Linked DNA regions of Homo sapiens: region 2 is linked to region 1. The links are contacts of gene promoters, found by promoter capture Hi-C in blood cells and fetal thymus (Javierre and others, 2016). All regions are on one chromosome and are shown on one strand. Each heading gives the region's core, a stretch centred on a gene start or on the middle of the fragment in contact. The rest is flanking DNA. Distances are from core to core; before and after follow the strand shown.

Region 1 (6,671 bases), core at 2,493-4,992:
CTCTCATCCTCACCAACACTTGTCATTTTCTGTTTTGTTTTTAGTGGCCATCCTAATGGGTGTGAGGTGATGTCTCATTGTGGTTTTGATTGCATTTCTCTACTGATTCATGATGTTGAACATCTTTTCATATGCCAATTGGCCATTTGTATAATATATCTTCCTTAGAAGAAATATCTATTCAGGTAGCACTTAATTTTTTTAAATAAAGTATTTGACAGTAACACAGAGATAAAGGAATCTAATCCACACTAAGAACCCCCCACCCAGCTTCAGAATGAAAGCATTCCCAGAGGTGTTAGAGCCCTGGGTTCCCACCCGGACCAGAGCCTGTGTGGCCAATCTGCCAGGCTGGAACTCCACAAGCTGCTCCTGGGAGCATGCTGCTGCTTCTGGATCCACCTGACCCCGACAACCTTCCAGCCCTTAACGGAGACAAATACTCTTTAATTTCTAACAAAGAATATTTCCCATGATTCAACCTTCCATTTCTTGACCTTCTGTCCACTTAAAAAGCAGATTCCTGTTCTTCTAGGTTTACATCTGGCTCTATTCCTCCTCACTCAGTGGCCTTGAGCAAGTCATTGAACCTCTCTGAGCCACAGCTTCTTTCTCTATAGAATGGGGATAACGATGATACTTTTGAAGAATAGTTGAAGAATCCATGTCAATTGCTATTACTACTAATCTGGCTCTGAAGGGACAGCTGTACCCTGTTTGAGCAGTCAATTGTGTGTTGTCTCTGATTTTTTTTATTTTTTTGAGATGGAGTTTCACTCTGTTGCCCAGGCTGGAGTGCAGTGGAGCCATCCTGGCTCACTGCAAGCTCTGCCTCCCGAGTTCAGGCCATTCTCCTGCCTCAGCCTCCCGAGTAGCTGAGACCACAGGCGCCTGCCACCATGCCCGGCTGATTTTTTGTATTTTTAGTAGAGGCAGGGTTTCACTGTGTCAGCCAGGATGGTCTCGATCTCCTGACCTCATGATCCGCCCGCCTCGGTCTCCCAAAGGGCTGGGATTACAGGAGTGAGCCACCACGCCCGGCCTGTGTGTTGTCTCTTAAAAAGGCTATTGTAGACCAGCTGACATGGCTCCTGCCTATAATCCCAGCACTTGGGGCAGCCAAGGTGGGAGGATTGCTTGGGGCCAGGAGTTCGAGATCAGCCTCGTCAACATTGCAAGACCCTCTGTTTACAAAAAAGAGTCCCAGTCTCAGGAGGCTGAGGCAGAAGGATCCCTGAAGTCCAGGAGCTCAAGGCTGCAGTGAGCTATGATCTTGCCATTGCACTCCAGCCTAGGTGACAGAGTGAGACCCTGTCTCTAAAATAAATAAATAAATACATACATACATAAAGGTTACTGTAGGTTTCGAAGAATTACCTGTATTTAAATGTATAGTTTCTGGGATGTGTGTGAAAGATTTATTTGGTCATTCATTCATACACACATGGACACAAACCTAGAAAAGTATATTCCGCACCCCTAGATTTTTCCTTAGTGTGTCCAGTAGATGGGAGGCTGGGCGAGTAGGTGAGATGGTTGGGGAGATGACGCGGTAGAGAAGAGAATGTCAGGTAGATGGTAAACATCCCGTGGGCAGGTCTGAGGGAGGCTGAGAGTGGACAGCAAGGTGATTATCCAGAACACACGTCCCTGTATCAGCATGTTCTGAGATGAACTGTTCTGTTTTTCTGTTCCAGGTAAAGCTTGAGAGCAACTTTGCCTCCATTGTGTTTGCCATCATGGTGTTGGAGGGGCTTGGCCGCTCACTGGACCCCAAACTGGACATCCTGGAGGCAGCGAGGCCCTTCCTCCTCACGGGCCCAGTGTGCCCCCCGTGATGGGGCAGTGGCCTCTGTGGGCCCTTGTCAAGAGCTGGAGGCCACTCCCAAGAGCCTCTCCTATGGCAGCTGGGACGTTTTAAAATTGGGACACCAATTTCAAATGTAACCCTCCAGTGGTGGAAGGCACACCATGGCTTCCTCTGCTTGGTTTGAGGGTCTGTTCAAAAGCTTTGGGCCAATTAGGGAGTAAAAGGAGGGAAGGGGCCTATCCATTCCATTGTGGAAGCTGGGCCAGGTGCCAGGGACACTCTCCTTCAGGGAAAATGTTATGTGGAGGAGGACGAATAAATTTATTTTGTTTTCCTGTTTTTCTCATTTCTTGACCCGCTATACTCCCTGGTCAGATGGGTACTGCTGGTAGTTCCCAGACTTTGATATTCAGGTTAGAAAATGCCATCAAGTCCTACTGATCTGTGGCATGTGCACACACACACACACACACACACACTCTTTATGTATAAATATCATGCAGGTGCTACCTGCCAGCATAATATACACTTAGGGCAAATTTCATTGTACTTCAAATTATCTTCTTGGTAATTTTTAATAGATTTTGCTAACTCCTTGGTAACTTTTATTACAAGGTAAAACAAAACTGATGAAAGTGGCTGACATACCGGGGACGTGAGCAGAACGGCTTGGCCACTTCCTTAACATGGCCCCGGGTTCACCCGCTAGTCCGGAACTACAGTTTCTCTGCCACAGTGTCTGCGCCTGTCCACTTGCAGGCATTAATTTTGGTGAATATGAAGAGAGTTAATATAACCAGTGTGTCCTCTTCTCCATGGCAGCGCCCAGGGACAGACCTGCAGTGACCACCACCTGCCCCTCTCTGCCAGGCCCAACCACGGGCTTTCTTCTCAGAGCTGAGCTGATGTGGCCGTCTGGCTGACTAGGAGGGGCCCGGGGTCAGCCTGGAGGGGGGGTATTTGTAAAGCTTAATTTCTCTTTTTTTTTTTTTTTAGGTAAAATCACAGTTTATCCCTGCACCTTCATAGATTATGTTGCTCGTCTTAGAGACCACCAGGCAGCGAATGGAGTCAAGCCCTTGCGCTCTCCGAGAGTCCTGCCCTGACTACAGGACTAGTTTCTCCCATTCTTTCCTTCTCCAGGATAAAGTTCCTCATTCCTGTCTTTTAGTGAGCAGTATGGTTTAGGTGGACAGAGATTCCTTTGGTGCAGTTTTTTTCAAGGAGGTGATGTTATTTTTTCCTTCCCAGGTCTTGAGGGGACATTCAAAGCAGGCAGAGAGGGGTTGGGATGGCTCCAGATGGCTGGGAGGGAGAACACCAGCTGGTCACGCAGCCCCTCGTGCCAGTGCGCATCAGGTACAGTGTGGAGGCGGGAAAGGGACAAAAAGACGGCAGTCTCTTCCCTGAGCCTATGCCAACCCAGCCTTAAAGCCAGTGGATCGAATCAAGCCATTTGTGGCATTATCTATTGCTGCGTACGAACTTAGCCTGGCACAATGCCTGTAATCCCAGCTACTCGGGAAGTTGAGGCAGGAGAATCGCTTGAGCCTGGGAGGCAGAGGTTGCAGTGAGCCGAGATGGTGTCACTGCACTCCAGCCTGGGTGACAGAGCAAGGCCTTGTCTCAAAAAGAAAAAAAAAAAAAAAAAAGAATTATACACCACTCAGTTTTAGGAGGGGCAGAACACGGGGAGAGCCCTACAGGATCAGAGGGGCAACCAACAAGCTGTTTCAGAAGGCATGGGGCAGCTCAGCAACCATAAGTTATGCGTGGGCTTTGCTCTCGGGAGAGAGGTTTCCTGCAGCCGAAGGACTCACAGCTAATCTGGGTCAGGAGCGGCTGCCGGCTCCCCCACTCCTGGAGATGAGCGACTCTGTGACGTCACGGGAGGCGCGGGCGGAGCGCCGGGGAAGCGAAGTAGGCAGGGGCGAGGCGGCTGGGGACCGCGGGGCGGACGGGAGCGAGTATGTCCGCTCTGACTCGGCTGGCGTCTTTCGCTCGCGTTGGAGGCCGCCTTTTCAGAAGCGGCTGCGCACGGACTGCTGGAGATGGTGGAGTCCGTCAGTGAGTGTGGGGCTGGGGATGGGGGCCTCGCCGGCCTGTAGCGGACAGCGCGGGTCCCTGGGACGCTCTCACCTTGACTGGGGCGCCTGAAGAGGCCGCGTCCCGAGGCATGCTGGGACCTGTAGTCCGCGTGTCTCCTGAAGCCGCGACTCGAGGAGAGGGACCCCGCTGGCCGGAGGGAGAGGGAGAGACTTCGCTGGGCAGATGGGACACCGTGTGCAGGGCCGTCATGGTAGTAGGGGCCGCCTGCCCTCGGGAGACGCACGCGTGAATGCGGAGCGGGCTGAGCCAGTCGGCGCCGGCGCGGGCGGTCCAGGCGGAGGAAGCAGCGTGCGCGGCGGGTGTGGACGCTCCTGGAGCGAGGCGGGGGGCGGCGGCGGTGAGGCCTAGGGAGGGCGCGGTCCAGGGTCCCGGTGCCTGGCTGCGGAATTTAGGGTAGAGTCTGTTCGGCAGCCTTTAATCGGAGACGTCACGTGGCCGCTTTTTAATGCTGAAAAATCACTCTGGCTGCAGGGAGTGGAGGCTGTCGCCCAGAGAGAGCGCCGTCGGGTGAGAGGAGCAGAAAGCCGGAAGCCAACGCTGGGGCAGCCGTGGCGTTTAGGAGAGTGACAGGCAGAGCCGCCCGCGAGGTGGCCCGAGACGCAGACCGGAGGGCGGAGGGCTGGGGGTGCGAGGTAGGGAGCGGGTGCGAGGTAGGGAGCAGCTGCCGAAGCCGAGTTAGTGGTGTGCAGAGATTCCGTAAGAGCAGGACTGGAAAAGAGTCATGGATGATTCCAGGTCCCTTAGATCATCAGCTACACTTTACCAAGAGGCAGTGTGGGGTCGTGATTCCAAGCGGGATTCTGGCCGCACAGTGGCTGGGTTCAAATCCCACCTCTGCCACACTCCAGCTGTGGGACCTTGGAAAAGTTTCTTATTCTCTTAATGCCTCAGTTTCCTCACCCATTTGGCGTCCATTTGCAAGGAACTAAATGAGTTACTGTTATCTAAAGCGTGTTTGTGTGTTTTAGGAGATGGGGTCTAACTCTGTCAGGCAGGCTGGAGTGCAGTGGCGCGATCCTAGCTCACTGCAGCCTCTAACTCCTGGGCTCAAGTGATTCTCCAGCCTCGGCCTCCCAAAGTGTTGGGAATACAGGCGAGCCACTGCGCTTGGTCTCACTAAAGTGTTTAAAACAATTGCTGGTGCCTGCTAAGGACCGTACAAGTATTCTTTAACTGTTGTTGTTATTAAGGAACTGAGGCCCAGGAAATGAAAGGAGTGACTTGCCTGAAGTCCCACATGGATGAAGAATCTGGAGCTGGGGCAGGTGTGGGGTGGGCAGAAGGCAAAGCCCTGTGTGACTTGGGCAAAGACAGTGATGGAGAGCCATGAGCGACAGCCCTTGGTCCTGCATGAGGAGATGGGGGAATGCCGATCTTCCCTGAGGTGCTGGCTTGTTCGTAACACACACTTGTTTCAGAGTGTGTGATAATTAAGTGCATAAATGTTTATGGAGCATCTTCTATATGGCTGCTCCTTTCTAGGTGCTGAGGATATAGCAGAATACGAGAGAGAATGAAGTGTACATTCTGGAGAGGAGAGACCAGTAGAAAAGAAAGACCTTTTTTGAGTACTGTTAAGGGTTATGAAGAGAATACAGCTGGGGATTAATATGGAGAATGCGTGGTGTGGGAGTAGAAGGGATATTGTATTTGGGGATGGCGTGGGAATGCCTGGGAGTGTGATTTGAAGCGGGACCTGAGGGATGAGAAGTCAGCCATGCAGAGACCTCAAGGGAAGAGCCCGGTGGACATAAGAGGGCAGAGGAGGCATCAGGTGGAGAGGCCAGAGCCCGCAGGGTTGGCAGGAGGCCAGGCTGGAGTGGAGCGTAGGGGAAGAGTGGGAGAGACCAGGTCACAGGGACAAGTGTGGGGGCCGGATTAGAGGGGGCTTTGGAGGACTCGGAATTTTATTCTAAGAATCACAGGGAGCCATTGGAGTTTTAAAGCAGGAAAGTAATGTGGTCTGATTTATTTTTTAAAAATGTAACTTTGTCCAGGCGCGGTGGCTCACACCTGTAATCCCAGCACTTTGAGAGGCTGAGGCGGGCGGATCACCTGAGGTCAGGAGTTCGAGACCAGCCTGGCCAACACGGTGAAACCCCATCTCTACTAAAAACACAAAAATTAGCTGGGCATGGTAGTGTGCGCCTGTAATCCCAGCTACTGGGGAGGCTGAGGCAGGAGAATTGCTTGAGCCCAGGAGGCAGAGGTTGCAGTGAGCCGAGATCGTGCCACTGCATTCCAGCCTGGGTGACAGAGTGAGACCCCGTCTCAAAAAAATAAAAATAAAAATGTAACTAATAGAGTTATGGTGCATTTTTGTTTTTAAACTTGACTCTCAAACATTTGAAGTTGGAACAGCCATTATTTCCTTGGATGTTGTTTCTTCCCCATTCTCTTTCCTTCTTACAGGACTTGCTGATAGTGTCTTACTTCCTTATGTTTTTTGATCTTGAGCTTGTTTTCCCTGGAATTTCTTTGAGATCGTGCTTCTCTTAGTCTCTTGAGGGTGCCACCCCAATTCAGGCTCACATTAAATTCTCGGCTTGGGGTTTTTGGTCCACACAGGTCCAACGCAGGTAATGTGAATTTGGGTGCAAATCTACCTGAGGACTGGCTTCTGATAACAAATTCTTGTTCCCTTGTCCATGGAAGGTTTATTTCTTGTTCACCCTTTTACCATATGGGGTTGCAGCTTTATTCAGTGACCTCGTCATTAGCCTTCCCACCTTGGGTGGGCCCCAGGCTGCGT
Region 2 (6,133 bases), core at 2,699-5,198, 300 kb after region 1:
GCTAATTTTTTTGTATTTTTAGTAAAGACGGGGTTTCATCGTGTTAGCCAGGATGGTTTCGATCTCCTGACCTCGTGATCTGCCCGCCTTGGCCTCCCAAAGTGCTGGGATTACAGGCATGAGCCACTGTGCCCAGCCTTACTCTTTTTAAGTCTATGCCATCTTCCAATGCCACATTTGTGTCCTCATGTTATGTCCTCACCCTGGAATGTTCTCTCTTCCCATTTTTGTCCCTCTTGCTTTTTCTTCAACTTTTTTTTTTTTTTTGAGTCAAGGTCTTGCTCGATCACCCAGGCTGGAGTGCAGCCTCGACCTCCCAGGCTCAAGTGATCTCCCACCTCAGCCTCTTGAATAGCTGAAATCACAGGTACGTACCACTATGCCTGGCTAATTTGTTTATTTTGTAATGATAGGGTCTCCCTATGTTGCCCAGGCTGGTCTCAAACTCCTGGACTCAAGAGATTCTCTTGCCTTGGCCTCACAAAGTGCTGGGATTACAGGTGTGAGCCACCATGCATGGCCTTGTCTTTTTTCTTGAATAAGAATCTCACCTTGTCCCCCAGGCTGGAGTGCAGTGGTGTGATATTGGCCCATTGCAGCTTCGACCTCCCAGGTTTAAGCAATCCTCCTGCCTCAGCCCCAACAAGTAGTTGAAACTACAGGCATGCACCACCACACCCAGGTAATGTTTGTATTTTTTTTCTAGAGACGGGGTTTCACCATATTGCCCAGGCTGGTCTCAAACTCCTGAGCTCAAGCAATCCACCTGCCTTGGCCTCCCAAAGTGCTAGGATTACAGGCATAATCCACCATGCCCCGCCCTCCTTTAGCTCTTTTAACGTTTTTTGGTTTTTTTTTTTGCATATTATTATGAAATGGTAAGCATTCGTGACGGAAAATTCAGAAAGTGTAGAAAAGAAAACCAACCATAGTCTCATCTCTCATAAGCAACAAATGTTAATATTTGGGCATAGTTCCTCCAGTCTTTTTGTTCATTTGCATTTTTCTTTTGATAACTGACAGCATTCTATACATGAACTCGTATATTCATTTTTAAAAAATTTTTTGAGACAGGATCTCTGTTGCCCAGCCTAGAGTACGGTGGCCCAAACACAGTTCACTGCAGCCTCAACCTCCCAGGCTCAAGCGATCCTCCCACGTCAGTCTCCTGAGTAGCTGGAATCACAGGCACACACTAACATGCCCAGCTAATTTTTAATTTTCTTGTGGAGACGGGGTCTCACTTTGTTTCCCAGGCTGGTCTCCAATTCATGGGCTCAAGTGATCCTCCCACAGTGCTCCCAAAGTGCTGGGATAACAGGCGTGAGTCACTGTGTTTGGCCTATGTTGTCTTAAAATAGTCTTAAATACCAACATGGGCAATATAATGAGACCCTGGCTCCACAAAAAGTAAAAGAATTAGCTGGGTGTGGTGGCATGCACCTGTAGTGCCAGGTATTTGAGAGGCTGAGGTGGGAGGATTGCTTGAGCCCAGGAGGTTGAGGCTGCCATTGAGCCATGATTGCACCACTGACCTCCGGACTGGGTGATAGAACAAGACCCTGTGTCAATTTTTTTTTCCTGAAACATATTTAAAAAAAACAAACTTTTTTTTTTTTTTTGAGATGGAGTCTCGCTTTATTGCCCAGGCTGGAGTGCAATGGTGTGTTCTCAGCTCACTGAAACCTCTGCCTCCTGGGTTCAAGCGATTCTCTTGCCTCAGCCTCCCAAGTAGCTGGGACTACAGGTGTGCACCACGTTCAGCTAATTTTTGTATTTTTAGTAGAGACAGGGTCTCACCATGTTGGCCAGGCTGGTCTCGAACTCCTGGCCTCAGGTGATCCACCTGCCTCGGCCTCCCAAAGTGCTGGGATTACAGGCATGAACCACTGTGCCCAGCCAAAAAAGCTTTTTGAAAGTACAATTCAAAAAATTTTAAATAAAATTTTAGACTTACCAAAAAGTTGCAAAAATATACAGAGAATTCCTGTATATTCTTCACCCAACTTCCCTTAATGTTAACATCTTATAACCAGAGTATAATTATCAAAACTAAGAAATTTTTTTCCACCGTAAAGTTACTACTTTTCTCTTTGTAAATAATATTTTTTGTGGGGGGGATACTTTGAGAGCATACAAATATCCTGCTTCTCCTTAAACTTTTGCCCATCAGTTTTAGCATCCATCAGTGGATACTGCTTGCAGTTATTATTACTGCGATATTCTAACCGAGATTTTCTATTTCCTTATTCCTTACATTTTACAATTGGAATTCTTCTGTAAAGTAAAGTACCTTCTCCTCAATTTATTTATACTGTATGGACTCAAAGATTTTTATTTAACCATTGGGTTTTAATCTAGTACTATCATAATATAGTACTATGCTTAATCCAGTAGTATTCTTATTTATTTTGTTGCTCAAATTGTTTCAGCCTTGGCCATAGGGGGCTCTTTCAGTTTGGCTCTCGTGCCCTTTCGACAAGATCCCCATCCTTTTTTTTATGGGGGGGCACTTCATCACTTTTTAGCATAATTTGTGTCTTAACCTCTCCCAACTCTGGAATCCACTATTTTTCCAAGGAACCACAATTTCTTTTGTTGGAGAATAGTATTTAGAAAACAAGGTCAGCCAGGCGTGGTGGCTCACGCCTGTAATCCCAACACTTTGGGAGGCCGAGGAGGGCAGATCACGAGGTCAGAAGATCGAGACCATCCTGGCTAACATGGTGAAACCCCCGTCTCTACTAAAAATACAAAAAAAAAAAAAAAAAAAAATTAGCTGGGCGTGGTGGCAGGCACCTGTAGTCCCAGCTACTTGGGAGGCTGAGGCAGGAGAACGGTGTGGGCCCAGGAGGCGGAGCTTGCAGTGAGCCGAGATCGTGCCACTGCACTCCAGCCTGAGTGACAGAGCAAGACTCAATCCCCAGAAAAAAAAAAAAAAAAAGAAAACAAGGTCTACGACTTGCATTTTGGAGTCAAAAAACATGGATATTACTAACAGCTAAGTATACATGCTGCCAGATTTTTTTTCAGTAAGTTTAAACTAAACACACTGCCACCAATTTTTCCAGTTCTACTAAATCATATTGTCAATTCAAATGGATTATCATTCATCTATCTTTCTCTTTATTCTTCCCTCCATCCTTCTGTCTCTCCTACTCTCTTTCCTTTTATTCTTACTTTCTCTTTTAATATAATGAGAAAAATGTACCTCATTTATTCTTCAATCCAGGTGAGTTTGGATATTTCTTTCATTCATTCAACAAAAATTTAGTGATGCCAACTGAGTCAGATTCTAGGCAATAGAGACATCCTCTTTTGGTTAATATTTTCATGGAATATCTTTTTCCATTTTCTCACTTTCATTCTACGTGTATCTTTGGATCTAAAGTGAGTCTCTTATGGACAGCATATAGTTGGATCATGTGTTTTTATCCATTCTTTTAATCTCTGTCTTTTGATTAGAGACTTTAATCCATTTGTATTTAAAGTAATTACTGATAAGCAGGGACTTCTGTTATTTTGCTATGTTTTCTACATGCCTTATGGCTTTTTAGTTCCTCATTTTCTTTTAATTTTTATATAACTTTCCTTTATTTTTTTTAGAGAAATGTTTAAATTCCTTTATCATTTCTGTGTGTGTGTGTGTGTGTGTGTGTGTGTGTGTGTATTTTTTTTCCTGTTGCTCAGGTTGGAGTGCAGTGGCTTGAACATGGCTCACTGCAGACTTAACCTCCTGGGCTCAATTGATCCTCCTGCTTCAGCCTCCTGATTAGTTGGGACTAGAGGCACAGGCACATGCCACCACGTCCAGCTAACTTTTGTATTTTTTTGTAGTGACAAAATGCCTGGCTCCCAAAAGGGTAAAATGAGAAAAATAGAGGAGAAAAGAGGGTTCTTACCCTTTAAATCCCCTGAAGTCACTTCAGCTAAAGGCAGAGGGGCTTGCAAGAATAGGAGGAGGTGCAACAACAATGGCTACCTCTTTGTATGCACTTCTGTGTTCAGAAGCAGACCATTTGTCTGAATAATGTCACTGTAGACATGAGTGTACAAATACCTCTTTGAGACCACCAATGTCAGTGGTCTGATTTTTAAAAATCAATTTTAATTACATAATTTTCAACATCTCATATGGGTCCCCACATTATTCTTGCATTTTACAATTTCTCTTGTGTTCTCTCCTATTTGGTTTTCCAAATGGATTGTTTTTCCAACTGCACTCCAAAAATGTCTATTAAAATTTTGATAAAAATTATAAGATAAATTATATAAATTAAATGTAAATAATTATCTTTTTGGGAAACCAAATATTTAATGTGTTCACTAAATTGTATCAATGCAATTTCAAGCAAATGCCAATTGGAAGACCAAGCCCAGGAATTCATAGAGGAAACAATCTTCCAAATAATAAGGAGCACTAAGGTGATCTTCCCCTTCAGCCACAATACTAGTAGCTATAAGAGTGTAAGTCAGTCAGTATTATCCAGATTTCTGAGCATTTACCACAGCATCAATTTTCAGAATTCTCTGGACAGTTTCATTTGCTAGGGTCAGAGCAATAAATGAAATCACAAAAGTTGGGCAACCAGTTTTCCAAAATGGAAATACTGCCCTTTTGATACTAATGCCTGCAATTTTTTTCTTGTTAGGCATGTTGATTTCTTAGTTCTGTTACTGTAGAAATGGGATTCAAAGCCAGCATTTTCAGCTAGTGTAGTTGGAATGACCTCCATAGCATCTGCAAAACATGAACACTGTAAAATTCCATACCACTCAATGTTCACAAACATTCAGTTAACCATAGGGCCAATTCTACTGGAGCACCACCTCCTGCAGTAAGAGCTCTCTTCACCAAACAGCAAATAATACATAGCACATCGTGAATGGAAGGCTCAATTCTTCAGTCCTATGACAATTTTAACTGTTTTTCCAGCACTTGTACAGCCTGTAGTCTTGAGCAGTTTTCCAGAACCATTTAAACTGACCTTCTCAGCTAACTCAGCAAAACCCAGCATGTCAGTGTGACTTGGTCAGTACGAGCAACTGGCTTGGTTCCAATTGTCTTACAAATGAATTCAACATCTTCTTTTTCAATATTCTTAACCAACATAATAATTTTGTTCAGGAAATGTCATGCAAGATCACTAGGAGCGTCTCTAAAGTGTCCTGTATGAGAAGGACATTATATCCCATTTGTAAAAGTTTGCTATACTAAACTTAAAATATAGGCTCTCTCTCTCATAGCATTTAGTCCATCTGAACATTGTCAGAAACTGCTACTTGATTTCCAAATCTGTTGGGAGCAGATAAGCAAAACTGAATGTGCCCAATCTTAGCCTTTTCAAATTGGGTTATGCCAGAATTTACCACTTTCTGGGTGAGAATAAGACCTTCCACCAACTCACAGTCATCAATTTTTCCACCAAGTTTCTTAACCGCAGTCATATATTGCTTAACAATGGGGTACAATCTGAGAACGGCATTGTTAGGTCATTTTGTCATGCAAACATCATAGAGTGTACTTACACAAACCTAGGTGGTATAGCCTACTACACACATAGTTACATAGTATAGCCTATTGCTTGTAGGCTATAAACATGTACAGCATGTTACTATACTGAATACTACATATCTAAACATTGAAAATGTACAGCAAATACATGGCATTATAACCACTGTCATATGCAGTCTGTTGTTGACTGAAATACTGTTACATGACACATGACTGTATGTTAATATCTCTAAGATTTACAGTAGTACCTGTAGCTGGGTCACTTTCATCACTGCATTTACACTCGTCGGAGGAAGCAGAACTTGAATACTGAAAGACAACCTGTGAGTTCAAAGAACTGGTGGCACTGTTTAACAAAGTTTCTCTGTCATTCAGTTCCACAGGTTGAGATATGTTACTTAAGATCTCAATACCCTTTTCCAAAGACTTCTGGGATGACTTGGAAGTGATGGTTGGATGAATCCCTTTCTGAAGAAGCTTGGCCCAGGAACCTATGAGAGAGCCAGCAATAGTGCCAACTGATGCAGTGCTATCTCCTGCTTCTATATCTTAGCCCCCCCAGCATTCTGCTGCTGGATGTGACACTTGCATTTGTTTCAGAATGGTGGCACCATCATT

What was found. Contacts are between HindIII fragments. The CHiCAGO score rates a contact against its expected background, and 5 or more counts as called.
Region 2: a fragment that was not itself captured here is called in contact with the fragment with the promoter of NDUFB2 in region 1 in 1 of 17 cell types (erythroblasts); the score reaches 5.5 in erythroblasts.

What each region holds. Positions count from the first base shown.
Region 1 is chr7:140,692,966-140,699,636 of GRCh38, forward strand. NDUFB2 (NADH:ubiquinone oxidoreductase subunit B2) reads left to right here and starts at 3,743. Exons shown (of 4, transcript NM_004546.3): 1 at 3,743-3,877. The coding sequence starts at 3,780. It overlaps NDUFB2-AS1 (NDUFB2 antisense RNA 1), which reads right to left and starts at 4,112. Exons shown (of 2, transcript NR_024454.1): 1 at 3,950-4,112; 2 at 2,371-3,855. It overlaps ADCK2 (aarF domain containing kinase 2), which reads left to right. Exons shown (of 8, transcript NM_052853.4): 8 at 1,698-2,145. The coding sequence ends at 1,838. RefSeq lists an enhancer at 3,752-4,061. The HindIII fragment of the contact is 6,958 bases long and covers 2,777-6,671 here.
Region 2 is chr7:140,993,458-140,999,590 of GRCh38, forward strand. LOC107986720 (a long non-coding RNA gene) reads right to left here and starts at 3,295. Exons shown (of 3, transcript XR_001744994.2): 1 at 3,212-3,295. LOC105375536 (a long non-coding RNA gene) reads left to right here. Exons shown (of 5, transcript XR_002956518.2): 5 at 276-314. It also overlaps the pseudogene CCT4P1. The HindIII fragment of the contact is 4,084 bases long and covers 1,907-5,990 here.